Linked DNA regions of Homo sapiens: all the other regions are linked to region 2. Evidence: promoter capture Hi-C in 16 types of primary human blood cells and fetal thymus (Javierre and others, 2016). All regions are on one chromosome and are shown on one strand. Each heading gives the region's core, a stretch centred on a gene start or on the middle of the fragment in contact. The rest is flanking DNA. Distances are from core to core; before and after follow the strand shown. Region 1 has its middle 8.9 kb from the start of LINC02098. Region 2 holds the start of KCNJ5 (potassium inwardly rectifying channel subfamily J member 5). Region 3 has its middle 42 kb from the start of LINC02098.

Region 1 (3,692 bases), core at 1,033-3,532, 690 kb before region 2:
TCAGATGAAAATTACGAGTTATTTATCTACTGTCACTAATCAATGATTTTACTATCAATAATTTGTGCTACTGGGAGATTTTATTGGAAACTATAACAAAAATAAGAGGTACTATCTATATGTTAAAAACTGATTTGATTGTATTATGCTTTTTTAGCTCTGATTACCTGAAAGTTATAAATACATTGAGTTTTTGCCCTAATTATCCAATAATTGTCTTATTTCAATATTTTATTCTGTAATTTAATATTCTGTTCCATCTATGTTCATGACTGTCACTCTCCAGAGCACATTTTTTTTCAATGAGTAAAATTACTAACAGAAAGGGGGGACTTAATTTAACAGGAAAAAAAATTATGCAAGAAAGGATTTATGGTCCTGCAGATGTTTCCAGCTGAAATACCAGCTGGCATTGTAGTTGTTTGTGTGGAGTGGAATCCCATAAGCCAATGAAAGGAGACAATCAGTTTTAGCTGACTCAAATTTTTTTATTTCCATTTTTCTAACACAGATGAATATGATGCAAATTGTTTGAAAATAAGAGCCTTACAGCTAAGTACATTACCATACTCTGTTGAAAACAAAAAAAAAAAACCTGGTGACGTGACAACTGTCTAGAAATACTGCCTTCTAAAGGTTGTTAAAATGTGGCGGGAACCCTGTTAGTTATTTTGACTTTTGCTGCTATTGCTGGTGCCACAAATGATGGGAATGCCTCAGTTTTATAATGTACTTTCCTTAAAGAGTTCAAAGGTCCTTACCAATAAAAGCCATTGGGGGCCAGGCACAGTGGCTCACGCCTGTAATCTCAGCACTCTGGGAGGCCAAGGCAAGTGGATCACCTGAGGTCAGGAGTTCGAGACCAGCCTGACCAATATGGTGAAACCCCGTCTCTACTAAAAATACAAAAAAAAAAAAAAAAAAAAAGTTAGCTGGGCATGGTGGCGCGTGCCTGTAGTCCCAGCTATTCAGGAGGCTGAGACAGGAGAATTGCTTGAACCCAGGAGGCGGAGGTTGCAGTGAGCCGAGATAGTGCCACTGCACACCTGCCTGGGCAACAGAGCAAGACTCCATCTCAGAAATAAATAAATAAATAAATAAATAAATAAATAAATAAATAAATGTTGTTGGGGAAAGTGTATACCACATCTTTTCTCATGTCCAGGCATCATGGGTGACATGGCACGGCAGACTTCCATGACATCAATCTAAAAATGACTGGAATATGGTATCCCACACTTGATGAGTGATGAAATGTTAACAACTCTAATAGCTCATATATACTCAGTGTTTATTATATGTCAGGCACTTTATGTTATCTAATTTTCACAAAGTTCTATGATCTATTGTTATATTAAACTCATTTTACAGATAAGGACACTGGGGACAGTTAAATTTTAAATAACTGACCAGAGGTTGTATGGTCAAGACCGTACCAGAGATTCACACTCAGGCCTGATCCTGAAACCTCTGTGCTCTTAACCACTTTGCAGTATTAAGTCCTTTGTTTCTTACATTTTATTAGGATATGTTCAAGACATATTGCAAACAATCAGAAAGTTGGAAGAGCAGAATGGCAGGTCCTTACATTGCTCAGTGTCAATATTAACATTCACTAGGCCAATAGACATTGCTGAGCATTTACTAAGTGCCAACTAGGAGCTCAGGATATGGATATAAGTGTTCAGAAAATAATATGACAAAGCTTAAACAAGGAATGCCCTATTATTTAGTCATTAAGAGAACAGAAGTAGACAGACAGGCAAGCTGCTAGGAAAACTCAGCTAAACCATACTAATTTTGCTTGAAACTGGAAGACAAAATTTGGTGAAGAATTGGTCTCTATGTGAAATACGCTGATCTGTGCCAAGAATCTGGTCTCTACCACATAGTTTCAAATGATCCCACTGAAGAGAAACTCATGATGGACATTGGGGAAATTTCTCAATGAAGACTTCTGTGTTCTCTGCCTCTTAAAAGTGAGTTGAAGGGAGTGAGGATGATGACATTTTGCAGGGTGATTTTTTTGCTCTCTCACTGTCAATACCCATTCTCATATCATTCTCTTTTAAATTAAGTAGATAAAATTTAGGCCATTTTGCTGCACACTTGAATGCATGTAGTGAGCCGAGACTCCATCAAAATGAAATCAGCCAAACACAGCAACAACAGTGCATGAGAGTGGAAGGTTGGGATGGATCGATATGCTTAGGAAAGCCTAGGAGACCTGCCTGAGCCACTCTCATTTCTGCAACACCTCCTGAATCACTGGAGGACTTGGGACATTCAGTGAGATCAAAACCTGCCTTTTAGCCTTTGGGCAATGTCATGCTCACAAGGCTTGAAAAGTAGACATAGATCTCCCTGCCAACAGCTGACAAGGGACTCAATCTTCCTCACAGCTGCTGTTGATCCATTGCATACAGTTTATGACAACATCTATGGGCAGGGGGAGGCTTTCCAATACATCTCCCATTGTCCAGAGCTGCTCCTGAAATCCGGCGCATGCAGAGCTGGGACTCATCTCACCATATTGTCTACTCATGAAATTATTAACAACAACCTCCTGTGGTTGGTGTTTGGCAGGGAGATCTTGTTTCACACGTGGCTGGCATATATTTGGCCAACAAACCCACAGTTCACCCCACAAATAGACAAGTGATCTCAATTATCCACTGGCTGAAAGTACAATATGTCTCAGAGCCTCCTCTCTAGCCCATGGTTGGTTGATCCATGGACAAGGGTCTTGCTAAAAAAGCAAAAACATAGGTGTCAAGTCTTGGCAAGATTCCAAACTAAGGTCATCAATGGCAAGGTTTTCTGTGAGAATACGGCTCTAACCAGTGCAAGATAGTTCAATAAGCTTGTGAAAACGTTATGTTAGGTTTGGAAGACAGACGAACGGAAGGCCGCAGTGTTCGTTATAGCATTGGTCTCTCAAACTCTCTCAGCATTTCTTTTTCAACATCTCATTAAAGTCTCTATTCAGGGACCACCTTGAATATGCAATGAAGAAACAAACAGAAAGCGTTTATATTTTTTCCAGATATGTTAGAAACCACTAGACACAGCAGGTAAAGGACTTGTTTTTCAACTGTTTTCAAATCTGTGGTCTCATTCCGCCTTGCTCCTAACAGCACCAAGAGGGACTGCTACAGTTCTGTATTTTATCTCACAAGATGAATCAAACGTCTCAGGCACCCGTCACCACTATTGTGAGGTTTTGAAAAGTGACACATTACTTTCCTAATTCAATTCATATGAAAACTTGCAGAGATAAAGTTTACCTAGTAGTTATATTAAATGAATGGAAAGCAGATAGCCCTGTGTACAAAATAGCATGCTGCTGCTGGTAAGAGTCAGCGGAAAGTTCTGACCCTCACTCACCACACACCTATCCCCAAGCTCCTGCTAATGTACATATTGCCAAATCTCAGCAACTTAATATAGTTAAATTCCCTATAATATAATAATTAAGTTCCTTGTAATGTATTTTTCTTTGTTTCTTCTTTAGTGCAAGTACCTAACCACCATTCTTTACACAATATAGTTAGGACAACCTGGAATAAAGCTTGAAGGCCCCACTGAATTAAGCAAATGTAAAGCAAATTGATGCTCAATGTCCTGGAAGAACAATGCACAAAGGCCTCCCACCTAGTTAGTTTGTATATTACCTTGGATACAGTCAGAAG
Region 2 (3,665 bases), core at 641-3,140:
CTCCAAGTTGCAACAATTGCTCAGGACTAGAATCCCCAAATTTCGCGTTTTTCAGTTCTCAGGTGAGACCTGGACACAAATTTTTCTGTCTCCCGATCCAAGGTCCCATCACTGAGAAAATCTTTGCAAAACAGTATTTCCCAGAGCACCCTATATTTTGCTTTAAAGTCAGTCCAGGTCCCCTGACCCCCACCCCGTAATGGCAAAAGGAATATCATGGTCTTTATACCTAATCCAAAAGCAACTGCTGCCCCAGGACAGAGCCCCTCCTCAGGGCTCAGCAGATGATTATAGTGTGTGTTATCTGGACCTGAGAACTGCACAGCCAAAGCCTCTCCCAAGAACTAGGCAATTAGGGAATTAAGAACTTTCTCCACAATAGTGTTAAGCCCTGAGGTCAAACAACATATGGTGCAGTGCGTGAGCACCTAGGCAAGCTGAGTCCCCTAAGGGGACACAGAGCTTTCCTGTTAGGGCCTGTTGCAGCCACATTTAACAATCACCCCCTCTACAGAGAGAAGAGGGGCAATCAGGAGGCCCACTCTGGCCGGACCGCTCTGTGCTCTGTCCCAGGGGAGGGTGCCTGGGCAACGGGCTGTGTGTACGCTGGTCTCCGAGGCAAGAGGACCCCCAGGCCACTGTTAGAGACTAAGTTTCCCTGTCACTGTCCTTACAGGAGAGGATGGACTTGGTGCCCTCCAGTATTAGTGACAAGCATTTTTCTCATTGCAACGTAATAAACCAGTTTTCTGGTCGTAGACATCATTCACCTAGCACTTGTGCTAGGTGCTAGGGCACCCCACGTTTGACCAGCTGTGTCTGCCCTGAGAGAGGGGGCTGGCAGGGGGGGTGTTGACCCCAAAAGGCTGGGTAACGGAGAGGGGCCAGAAGGAACACCACCGGGTGAGAAGGGCCACCCCGAACAGACCGGTCCTCAGAGGCACCTGCCGGCCCTCCCCAGACAGCAGCCCTCCCTTTCAGCCTGCCCTGGCAGCTGCCTTTCCTACGGCTTCCACGAATTAAAGAACACACTCTGGTCATCATCTGTCCTCAAGGCAGGTAGGAATCCAAAAGGGAGAGCCGGGAGGTGGCGCGGAGGACGCCGGCTCTGCCCACGCCTGGGCAAGGTTGAGCTCCGTTCCCTCCGGGCTGCTCCCGCCTCCTGTCCGTGCAGGGCGCGTTTCCAGCCATCGCCGCCCAGCCGCCGCCGCACGCCGGGGAGAGATCGTCCGGGGTGAGCAGCGAGCCCGGGGACAGCTAGCCTGGGTCCTGTCCCTGGACCTACTCCCCCTGCAGCTGGCGGATCAGGCCCCCGGACCCTCACTCCACGGCGGGAATCAGAGCCGTCGGGCGGGGGATGCAGCGCCCAGACTGTGGCTCCCCCGCCTTCCCAAAGGAATCCCCCCATCTGCTCCATCCCTCTCGGGAAACGGCGAAATGCTGCCAACCGTCCGCTTAGCGCACCGCGGAGCGACTGAGCAGCCCCGCCGAGGCTCCGAGCCAAGATTTCTGCCCTAATAGTTTCTCCCTTCTTTCTGTCTGCTCCACCGCACCCACTAAATACGCGGCGCTCACACACGGACACGCGTGACACGCGGCGCTCACACACAGGCATGGGACGCTCACACGCGCGCGCGCGGGTCTCCGTCCCTGGCACCCCGCAGCAGGGGTGCAGCCGGGGGCAGGGGGAGCCGGGGGAGGGCGCAGGGGGCCGCGGGGACGCGAGCGGAGGGCTGGATGCCTGCCGGGCTCTCTCTCCGCCTTCCTCTTCCCTCCCAGTCCTGCCGAGCTGACGGCGTCCCGGATCACATGGAGCCCCCGCCCCACCCCAGCCCGCCCCCCGCCGCCAACGCCGGTGGCCCTTCCAGTCGCGTTACTACCCAGAGATTCATTTGTACCAGGGACGGAGGGAGAGAGGAGAGGGAGGAGGGGACACACACACACACACACACACACACACACACACACACACACACAGAGAGAGAGAGAGAGAGAGAGAGAGAGAGAGAGATTGTTCCAGCTGCTCTCGCTAGAGAAAGGGAGTGACCCAAGGGGCCGCGAGTGAAGGGACAGGATGGCTTAGGTACCTCTGCCCACAGGACCCCACAACAGGGAGAGGTTCCAGCTACAGCTCCTCCGTGGGGTCATGGCAGGGGCTGGGGAGTCCCCTCAAAAGCCCTGAGCCCCCCTGCACCGCCGCTAAGGGACACCCCAGAAGTTAGCATCAGTGGGACTCGGAAGCTCCGATCTCAACAAGTAAGTTGTCTTCTTTTCCTCCTCCATTTCTCCCCCAGCTCGCGGGTTCTGGAGGGCAGGATGACACCCTCAGGTGTCCATCACCTGGGCAGCAGGCTTTCACAGGGAACCTGCTAGACTGGGAGCCAGGGGGGATAAGGAAAAGCTTAGGGCAGGTCCAAGTTTAGGAAATTGGAGATCTCCGTGGCTGCAGGCTGCCCTGTGCGTTGGGAGCCCAGCCATAAACACCTTCACTTCTGGCACTAGACCAGGGCTACCTGGGGGTGCCCCAGATCTCCCAGCAGTGGTTTGAGAGGCAACAGTGGCCAGGAGTGGGTGGGGTGTGGAGGACATTTTTCACCTGGTAGGACTCTTCCTTCAAATGGGAGCAGGGAGGGCCAGGATGGGGGGCGGTGCCCCCCTCAGCCTTAGATCCCCAGCCTAATCTTGCTTTCTCTTTTAAGTGTGGCCAAACTGGAAACACGGCCTTGTGATTTCTGCCCCCCTCGCTGCCCAAGTCACTTCCTGCGTACCTCCCTATCTCCTTTTAAAGAGCTTTCAAATGGTTCAGAAAGGCCAGGGGTCAAGCCTGTGAGGACAGAGGATAGGGAACAGAGAAGGCCGGCCTTGTCATTGCTCCCCTTCTCTTCAAGTCAGTGCTTCTCCCTGCAGAGCTGTTGGCCCCCTGGTTTTATCTGTGCCTTCCCTCAAACAGGGCTCTCCAACCCCAGGGGCTGTGGAGGGCCTCAGGTCCGGCCCCCAAAGTTCTAGGGCCTACCCTGAACATCAGGGTGAGCAACACCAGCCCAAAACCTGTTCCAGGAGCCTTTTCAAACACCAGAAGAAGATCAACAGGAACACGCCAAGTATTTTACTCTGTTTCAATCCTTTTAATAAGCTGAGATTATCATCCTCATTCTACAGGTGAAAAATTGAAGCCCAGAGAGGCTGTGCAATTTGCCTCAGGTGCACAGCTCATAAAGGGAGATTCTCTCCTATATCTGACTCCAAAATGTGCCTCGTTTTCATCAAAAGCCATATGGTTTATCGGGCTTTCTGGTTCTCAAAGCACTTTTCCATGTGAGGAAAAGGCTAATATTTATGAAACCAAGGTGCCGAGCTATATACGTTTACATGAGTTCATCTTGACACCAGTCCTGTGGGGCAGAGCTTATTTCTTCTGTTTTATAGATGAGAGTAAGGGTAACAGAATTCCAGGCACTAAGTGGCAGCAGCACTGCTATCTCCAAAACTCTTGTCCTCTGGCTTTAAATCCAGGGTCTTTCCACTAACAAAAGCTAATTCTGAAAGCTGCTCTTGTCTTTCCACATCCCTGCTTTTCCTCAAAGCCAGGTGTAAATTGCATCATCTGGCTGAATGAGGCGCTCAGGCTTCCTGGAATCTGAGGAACGAACAGGGCAGAGCAAATG
Region 3 (3,830 bases), core at 744-3,243, 640 kb before region 2:
AATCCCCGAAAAAATTCTTTAGAAAACTCTAGCATATGGTTAGAGCTTGATCAACATTAACAGTTATGTGCTCCATCTGGGCAATGCTAGAGTTATGGTCTAGTGAGGGAGACAAGCACTAAAATGGGGTGAAGAAGGTGAAATAAGTGGTAAAGTAGTAGGTGCCACTCATAGAGGAAGGAGATGAGGAGCTTTCTTTCCAGCCCCAGACTCTTTTACAAGAGAGTTCAAGATAGGATTCCTATTTACTGAGAAGTATAGTTACCACTGAGTTGACATCAAGAACCAATATTATTATCAACTTTCTCTATTTTTTATTTGATTTTACATCAATCTGAGGATGTAATTGGCTTGATTCTCACCCAAAGTTAGTAGGTTTTGAGAGAAGAGGGATTTGGGTACTTAAAGTATCACCCGATAGATTTACTGCTTCCACAACAAACCCTACATGTAAAGCTGCTACAAAAAGAATTTTATGTAGTGTCGTCTCTAAAGGTTTTAATCTAATTTTAGGTTGGCATTAAATTTGAAGCCTAAATATTTTATTAAGGAGACTCTCCACAACCTTAATTCAGCTTTTGGTTGGAACTTGGGTTGGATTCTAGAAAGCCTCTTTCTCTCAAATAAAAAGCTCATAGGTCAGGTTTCTATAAATAAATGTCATTTTATTTTCATTCACTCAGTTTCCCAACTAACTCAGATATAATTTCTGATATAATTTCACTTATTGATAATCTCAATCCCCTTCTTAGACCCTGCTCACTTTAACCTGCAGATGTTCCAGAGGGTAAAGGGTGCAAAGGTGTACAGATGAAAAACAAAATATTTTTTTCAGTCCCAGGGCCTGTTTTAGCACCTGTTTGGCACCTTCTCCCAGAACTCATATTTACCCAAGACTTAATAAAATAAATCTAGTTCTTCACCATAAAGTCTATAGAACTTTGAAACTCCATATACTTTAAAAGAATCTCATAACAAAGGACAAAATGTCCTTGAAGAAATAGTAGTTGCTTAATAAGTTCTTCAAAGGAAAACCTTCCATATAATCTTTTTTTTTTAATTAAGAAGGAGCAAAGTTAAAAAAAAAACCCTCCCATATAATGAAAGGAAAAAATACTGGGAAACAAGACCATATTAAATTTGCCCAATGAGGCAGGCTCACAGGGGGAAAAGTAGTGTGCTCAGACCTACTGCTATTGATCATGGTAAGTTTGAAGAAAATGAGATCAGAGAGGGTTAAAAGATTGTTGACTCAAAGAGCAAAGCAGCAATATGACAAGTGCGTTTTGGAAAAGAGACCTGAGTTCAAACCTCATATCTGTCTTTTACTAACTATGTGACCTCGAGTCATTTGCCTAATAAAATGAACTTTATCTTCCCTGTTTGTTCCATGCCACCTGTTTGGCTCCTTGCAATGATTGGCAATTGGTCTCATTAATCTCTGTGAACCATTCCCAGCACATGAGAATTATGAAATGCATGCTACCTGTCCTCATAGGAAATCAACATGTCACAGTAGAAAGAGTACGGCATTGGAATTAGGTAGGTGGAGTTTCAGAGACATGCCATGCGTTGACCTGCTCTGTAATCTTGCACTCAGTTGCCTCTTTTTAAAGAGGGGCTAATAATACCCACCAGGCATGACAGTAATATGAATTAAATCAAATGACACCAGTCTCTGGCTCATAGTATGTATTCAACAGAGGGTAGATATTTTATCACTTCCATGGAACAGAACAGAAGAGAAGTTCCAGTATTACCTCTAACACTGCTTCATTAGGCCCCAACTCAGTGCCCTCCATGGACAACCGAACATGCTCAAATACTCCAGGACAGAAAACCTCAGTCAGCTGGAGAGGTAGGAGAGCTTTATAGAGATGGAAATTTAAGATGATAAAACACTTCACCAGTGGGTGGTAAATATATAGATACCCTATTTCCCAAAATAGCTCTGGGCTTTGGGGTGCCGGGGTAAGCGGGCTACCATCCCACTTCCATAGCTGATAGCAGAGAAATGCCTGCTGGGGACAGAAAAGCTAGAGAAATGTGTTTATCTTCCAAGGAATACTTATAAAATAATTGGTGAGGGGGGTCTTCTAGGGTTACGTCGAATGTATAAACTGTTTATTTTTGCAGCACTGATTGGGAGTGCATGGAGAAGGGCTAATGCACTTGGGTTCAATGTTTACTCCTTCTAAGGGGCTGCACCCAGGGTTCATGAATGTGCAGTCATCCTCTTTCTAAAATAGATATTATTCCCCAGTTTTTCTCCAATGATACCAAGCCATAACATCTCACTCCATTTCCCCTCTTTTTAACCCAGTGGGTACAATTGGAAACCAGCAGCCCATCCCACAAAAAATTTAGGGGAATACTCCCATGTGGGTATCCTAAAAGACTCTCTTGTACTCACTCCCACTAATTGGTTGGAGGAGGGAGTGACTGTTTTCAATCAACTCTGCGTTAACTTGAACTTGTCCCTGCATCGAAACATAATGGGGAGGGTATTTTTTCTCAAAAGATTTATCGTAACTAATTAATCATCATGACCATAAAAATCTGTTCATTTTTGTGAGGCATAGAAATTATGTGAAATCTGTCCAATAATGTTCATAAGAGTAACACTGAATGAACGCTGATTAGGCACCAGGCATCCTTCTGAGTACTTTGTAGAGATTAATTTATAAATTATCACAACAGTTATTCTGTGTGATTTAATATTATTATCCCTATTTATAGATAAGGTAACAGAAGTACAGAGAATTTAACTATCTTGTGCAAGACGCTTAAGAAATGAAAGGAGTAAACTATGAATCTGCAATTTGGAATGCAGGCAAATCAGGTCAGGGCCTGCTATTTAAATCCTGCTGTAGAGGACTGCATTTTTACATTGACCATAGAAATGTATTAGACAGAGGAGCATCTAGAAACACTAGAAATCCTGCAAATCCACAAGGTCTAGCTCTCAGCCCTACGAGGAAGGCCCCTCTCCAGGTTTGTTCCTCCCTTGGGTATTGATATTGTTTGGCTGTGTCCCCACCCAAATCTCATCTTGAATTATAGCTCCCATAATTCCCACTTGTGGAAGGTACCCAGCGGGAATTAACTGAATCATGGGGGCAGGTCTTTACCATGCTGTTCTCATGATAGTGAATAAGTTTCACAAGATCCAATGGTTTTTTTAAAGAGGAGTCTGCCCATACAAGCTCTCTTCTCTTGTCTGCTGCCATGTGTGATGCGCCTTTCACCTTCTGCCATGATTGTGAGGCCTCCCCAGCCACTTGGAGCTGTAAGTCCATTAAACTTCTTTCTTTTGTAAATTGCCCAGTCTTGGGTATGTCTTTATCAGCAACATGAAAATGAACTAATACAGGTACACTGCCTCAGTCCTATAGGCAGTAGCTTCTCCCTGGAGCTACTATTTCTGTGTTCTTTAGCCTCTCTTTTCCCTGTACTAGTCAATCCCTTGTCACTCCAGTCTCCTGTTAATCCCCTATTTGTATATATTAAACTGTTACTGTTCAAATCCCTCATGCTTCCTGCCTCCCCAGAGGAATGGCCCCGAAACTTGCTCAGTGCCTCCTGTCCTACTTTTCCCTTTGCATCCGCTTCAGCTGCTCTTGACTCCTCGCTGTTCCTCTGGTCTTCCATCTGTGTTCCCACCTCAGAGCTTTTGTACTTGCCCTTCCCTGGAAAGACTCCACACACACACACACACACACACACACACACACACACCTCTTAGATTTGATAAGTGAATGTATTGAATTCACAGGATACAAAATAAACTGACAAAACTCAGTAGCGTTTCTGCACACCAAAAATGATCA

Evidence for each region. Contacts are between HindIII fragments. The CHiCAGO score rates a contact against its expected background, and 5 or more counts as called.
Region 1: a fragment that was not itself captured here is called in contact with the fragment with the promoter of KCNJ5 in region 2 in 3 of 17 cell types (neutrophils, naive B cells and total B cells); the score reaches 7.2 in neutrophils.
Region 3: a fragment that was not itself captured here is called in contact with the fragment with the promoter of KCNJ5 in region 2 in 1 of 17 cell types (neutrophils); the score reaches 5.4 in neutrophils.

The regions. Positions count from the first base shown.
Region 1 is chr11:128,198,014-128,201,705 of GRCh38, forward strand. No RefSeq gene overlaps it. Among named protein-coding and RNA genes, the nearest start is that of LINC02098, 8.9 kb to the right of the region's middle. The HindIII fragment of the contact is 1,158 bases long and covers 1,704-2,861 here.
Region 2 is chr11:128,889,466-128,893,130 of GRCh38, forward strand. KCNJ5 (potassium inwardly rectifying channel subfamily J member 5) reads left to right here and starts at 1,891. Exons shown (of 3, transcript NM_000890.5): 1 at 1,891-2,256. The HindIII fragment of the contact is 6,484 bases long and covers 1-2,399 here.
Region 3 is chr11:128,248,499-128,252,328 of GRCh38, forward strand. No RefSeq gene overlaps it. Among named protein-coding and RNA genes, the nearest start is that of LINC02098, 42 kb to the left of the region's middle. The HindIII fragment of the contact is 5,676 bases long and covers 1-3,830 here.